Linked DNA regions of Homo sapiens: region 2 is linked to region 1. The links are contacts of gene promoters, found by promoter capture Hi-C in blood cells and fetal thymus (Javierre and others, 2016). All regions are on one chromosome and are shown on one strand. Each heading gives the region's core, a stretch centred on a gene start or on the middle of the fragment in contact. The rest is flanking DNA. Distances are from core to core; before and after follow the strand shown. Region 1 holds the start of ZNF587 (zinc finger protein 587). Region 2 has its middle 12 kb from the start of ZNF749.

Region 1 (2,700 bases), core at 181-2,680:
CAGGACTAACAAATTAGCTACAAGAATAGAAATTACGGTTTAGGGGTCATGCAGCTTCTGGCTCCAAGAGTCTGAACCTCCCCAAGTTGCTCCTGAAGATAACCTTACTATTGTAAAACCTAATGTGAGTTTCTGGGGTGCTAGTTGAGTTGGTCTCCCCTGTGTGAGACACCCATGGGAAGCCATGGGCGGCCTCTGAGGAGAAAAGTCTCCTTATTGCCTTCATGTCTTTATGCCCCGAGAGCATAACTCTTCAGCAGCATTCCATGGGTTGCTCAGGGAGATCACACTCCCTTGAAGCAGTGGAGCATAATCAAACATCTTGGCTCCTCCTGAAACCCGCAGCCACCCGTTTCAGTTAAGTTAAAGATCTTAAGTAGTTTAGACACACGCCTTTGTTCAAGGAAATTCACAGAAACGGCCAGTGCTTTACATCTTATGGAATGACTCACGAGTTCTCCTTTACTGATTAATCCTTTTCCTGATCGCTTCCTCCCCCTCCAATCAGCCATAAGAACAAAGAGCTTGTAAACCAATAAACTGGGTGGAGCCCAAGAGCTCTGGGCCGCCAGGAAGCCTCCAATGCTCTGGCCACCTGGACCCGCCTTTTAAATGCGTATTCTGTCTCTTTCTAACTCCTTTGTCTCCGCAGGACTCGGGGTATCTGCTGGGTGGTGTGGGGCTGGTTTCCCCAATATCTAAGATCAGTGCTTGGGGCATTTTGCAGATCCTGCACTGGATGGATCAGCGGACAACACACAGACCGGTAATCTGGGTCAATCAGTTCTGCCATCCCACCCAGAACAGAAAACAGCATGAAAAACTCACTTTAACCCCCTATGAATCCATCTCCAACCAGACTGATCAGCACTCCCCACTTCCCAAGCCCCTACCCGCCAAATTTTGAAAACTCTGATCCCAGAATGCTCAGGGAGACTGATTTGAATAATAAAACTCCTGTCTCCCGAACAGCAGGACGGCTCTGCGTGAATTACTATTTCTCCATCGCAATTCCCCAGTCTTCATAAATCGGCTCTGTCTAGGCAGCTGGCAACGTGAACCCACTGGACGGTTACAAGGAGAGGCCTCCTGTGAGCGCCTCAGTGTTCCTACGCCGGGTACCGGCTACAGACCCACGAGCAGGAGCCGCTCCCTCGCTGGTTTAGGACCTGGGTGACGATGGGGTGACCTGAGGGCACAGAAGGCACCACAATTACCTGAGTTGGGCGCCTCGGCACAGCCGCTGCCATCGGACTACTTGGGGAAGCACGGCCCGGGAGCAGTGGTCGCCGTCACGGGGCTGCAGAGCCGCCTCTGGGCACCGAGGACGATTCCTCTCCACCTTCTAGGTTCAGTCACCGCGGTCCCACCCAGCACTCAGGGGCCACAAACTGGGGAAACACCCGCATCGCCGATACACAGCCGCTACTAGAGACCCCGGAAGTCTCGGCCTTACGTTACGTGCACACGTGGAAATGCCTTCTTTCCGAGTGCTCACTGGCTCTGACCGGCTGTCGTTTAAAGCAGAGCTTTCTGGGTAATGTAGTTCCCCACTTTCCATGACACAACATGGTTACCAGGTTCTGAAATGTTCATGGCTCAGATGCACCTCCAAGCCTTTGTACCTATTGGTTCCTCTACCTGTATTACTCTAGCTGGGGTGAAGCCTGTAATACACAGCATTTACCTGAGCTAGGTCCCTCAGTGTGGCTGCTGCCATCAACTGTGGGTGGAGCAGGCATCACCCCAGCCAGTGCCTATGAGCCTCAGACCTGCCACTTGGGAGCAGAGATGACTACTCCTCTTGTGCCTTCTCAGTCCCAACCCAGTACTCCCTGGCCTGACAAGCATGCCCAGAAATCCCTCATCCTGGGCCTTGCAACTAGCGCCTTCTGGGTAAAGTACTTCCCAGAGCTCTCAGCCAACAATGGTGGTATCCTCCAAGAGCAAACCGAATGCAGACCATGTTACATTCTGAGGGCTGCTGGAAAGCCCTGCTCACACCTCAAAGGAGGAAGATTATTGATTCTTTGTAAAAGCATCAAATAGGTATCACATCAGACTCTAGGAAGCTCATCCTGCACCCAGAGAATAAAAATACTATTTGAGATGCTCCCAAACTTTACTTATCTAAGTGGCCATATCATTGGCATCATTCAGACTTACAATGTGTGCACTCAGAGCTGAGAACATTAAGTATTGATTGCTCTTTAAATTCACGTAGACTGAATCATTACAGTCAGTTTTGCGAGTTTCATTGTTTTGTTGGGAACAAAAGAAAATTCTCCATAAGACATGATGACAGGATGGGTACAAAAAACAGTGAGCAAAAATGAATAAGACCTAATATTTGCTACCATAACAGGGTGGCTATAGTCAAAATAATTTAATTATATATTTAAAAATAACTAAAAGAGTATAACTGGACTGTTTATAATACAGAGGATAAATGTTGAGGTGACTGAGACCCCATTTACCCTATGTGATTATCACATATGGCATGGCTACATCAAAATATCTAATGTAATCTACAAATATATACACTACTATATACCCACAAAAAATAAAAATAAAGGCCAGACATGGTGGCTCACACCTGTAATCCCAGCACTTTGGGAGGCCAAGGCAGGTGGATCACCTGAGGTCGGGAGTTCGAGACCAGCCTGGCCAACATGGAGAAACCGTGTCTCTACTGAAAGT
Region 2 (2,700 bases), core at 38-2,537, 430 kb after region 1:
AGACAAGAGCAGAACCTTCAATGTAAATGTTAAACAAGTAGGATCAAGATGCTGAAGCATTTCTTTGAAGAATTGTACAGATGAAACATGGCTTTATTATTAATTACTATTTGAGATGGAGTTTCACTCTTGTTGCCCAGGCTGGAGTGCAATGGTGTGATCTCGGCTCACTGCCACCTCCGCCTCCCGGGTTCAAGCGATTCTCCTGCCTCAGCCTCCTGAGTAGCTGGGATTACAGGCATGCACCACCTCGCCAGGCTAATTTTTGTATTTTTTAGTAGAGAGGGGGGTTTCTCCATGTTGGTCAGGCTGGTCTCAAACTCCTGAGCTCAGATGATCCGCCCAACTCGGCCTCCCAAATTGCTGGGATTACAGACGTGAGCCACGGCGCCCGCAATGAGAGTGTTTTGAGAAAGTTAGCTAAAGCTTTAGCAGAAAACCCATGGGAAAGCTTCACCAGGAGTCCTTCACTTCAATGCTCCTGCTCATTCCTCTCATCAAATAACTGCAACTTTACAAGAATTCTGATAACCCTAAGGCATCCACCTTACAGTCCGGATTTGGCTCCTTCTGACTTCTTGTTTCCTACTTTTAAAAAATCTTTAAAGGGCACCCATTTTTCTTTAGTTAATATTAAAAAAGATTGCATAGACAAGGTTAAATTCCCAGGAACCTCACTTCTTTAGGGATGGACTAAATGCCTGGTATCATCACTTATAAAATTGTCTTGAACTTGATGGAGCTTATGTTGAGAAATAAAACTTGTTTTCTTTTTGTATCCTTTACTTTCATGTTTCCACAAACTTTCTGAAGTCCCCACATATACTAAAAAACTCCTACATCTCAAAACCAAATAACCCTAAAGAAAAAAAAAAAACTCAACCCAGTAAAACTACTAAAAAAAAAAATTAATAATAAAGTTAAATTAAAAAATGATGCAGCTGCTATAGAAGAGTCCTCAAAAATTTTAAAACAGAATTAACATAGAATGGGAACATTGTGAGTCAGAAATTTAAAAAATTAAAAATATTTTTTAAATGAACATAGGGGGACAGGTGAGTGGATCATGAGGTCGAGATTGAGACCATCCTTGCCAACACGGTGAAACCCCGTCTCAACTAAACATACAAAAATTATCTGGGCATGGTGGTGCATGCCTGTAGTCCCAGCTACTTGGGAGGCTGAGGCAGGAGAACTGCTTGAACCCCGGAGGCAGAGGCTGCAGTGAGCTGAGATCAGGCCACTGTACTCCAGCCTGGCGACAGAGCGAGACTCCCGTCTCAAAAAACAAACAAACAAACAAACAAACAAAAAAAAAACATAGAAAGCACCAATTCTACTTCTGAGTAAATCCTCAAAAGGAATTTAAAGCACAGCCTCAAAGAAACATTTGTACATTCATGCTCATCTGCTATTAACAACAGCTGAGTGGAAACAACCCAAATGTCCACTAATGAAAGGAAAAGTGGCACATACATATATAATCATGCACCTCACTTTTCAGTCAACAATGGGCCACATTCATGACAGTGGTTCCATAAAATTACAATGAAGCTGAAAAATGCTTATTGCCTAATGACATGATAGCAGTAGTAAGGCAATATATTAATCACATATTCATGGTGATGCTGGTATAAACAAACCTACTGTGAGGCCAGTCATATAGAAGTATAACATATACAATAATGTACAGTAGATAAAACTTACGAGTTACTAGCTTATGTTCTTAGCATACTACACTTTTTATCATTAGGTGTTCTCCAACAGTAGAGTATATATGGAGTTGTGTGTATGTCTATAAATATACAGGTGTACATACACACAAACTGTAACACAGCCTCGGGCAGGTCCTTCAGGAGGTATTCCAGAAAAAGGCATTGTTATTTTAGATGACAGCTCCATGTGTGTTACTGTCCCAGAAGATCTTCTGGAACAGGTTGTGAAGGTGGAATAAAATGACATTATCCTGATCCTGTGCCGGCCTAGACAAATGTGTGTATCTTAGTTTTTAACAAAAAAAATTTAAGAAGTTAGGATATAAAAAATATTTTTGTACAGTTGTACAATGTTTTAAGCAAAACATTATTACAAAAGTCAAAAAGTTTTTAAAAATACAAGCTTATAAAGTAAAAAATGGTCAGCTAAGGTTAATATATTAAAGAAAAATTTCTATAAATTTAATTTTGTCCAGCCGGGCACGGTGGCTCATGCCTGTAATCCCAGCACTTTGGGAGGCCAAAGCGAGTGGCTCACTTGAGGTCGGGAGTTTGAGACCAGCCTGGCCAACATGGTAAGACCCCGTTCTCTACTAAAAATACAAAAATTAGCGGGGCATGGTGGTGCATGCCTGTAATCCCAGACACTTGGGAAGCTGAGGCAGAACTGCTTGAACCAGGAGGTGGAGGAGGTTGCAGGAAGCCAAGATTGCACCACTGCACTCTAGTCTGGGCAACAGAGCAAGATTCTGTCTCAAAAATAATAATAAAAATAAAAATGTATTGTCGTCTAAGTACACAATGTCTATAAAGTCTACAGCACAGTAACAACCTAGGCCTTCACATTCACTTACCACTCACTGACTCACCTAGAGCAACTTGCAGTACTGTAAGCTTCATTCATGGTAAGTTCTCTGTGAGTCTATCATTTTTTCTTTTATACTGTATTTTTACTGTACCTTTTCTGTTTAGATATACTTAAAAA

What was found. The method cuts DNA at HindIII sites, captures the fragments that hold promoters and counts their contacts. A CHiCAGO score of 5 or more calls a contact.
Region 2: a fragment that was not itself captured here is called in contact with the fragment with the promoter of ZNF587 in region 1 in 2 of 17 cell types (naive CD8 T cells and erythroblasts); the score reaches 5.7 in naive CD8 T cells.

What each region holds. Positions count from the first base shown.
Region 1 is chr19:57,848,589-57,851,288 of GRCh38, reverse strand. ZNF587 (zinc finger protein 587) reads right to left here and starts at 1,430. Exons shown (of 3, transcript NM_032828.4): 1 at 1,218-1,430. The coding sequence starts at 1,250. It overlaps LOC124904782 (a long non-coding RNA gene), which reads left to right. Exons shown (of 2, transcript XR_007067358.1): 2 at 728-974. RefSeq lists enhancers at 1-988, 1,043-1,132, 1,183-1,422, 1,593-1,652, 1,723-1,832. The HindIII fragment of the contact is 27,837 bases long and covers 1-2,700 here.
Region 2 is chr19:57,422,114-57,424,813 of GRCh38, reverse strand. No RefSeq gene overlaps it. Among named protein-coding and RNA genes, the nearest start is that of ZNF749, 12 kb to the left of the region's middle. The HindIII fragment of the contact is 1,667 bases long and covers 454-2,120 here.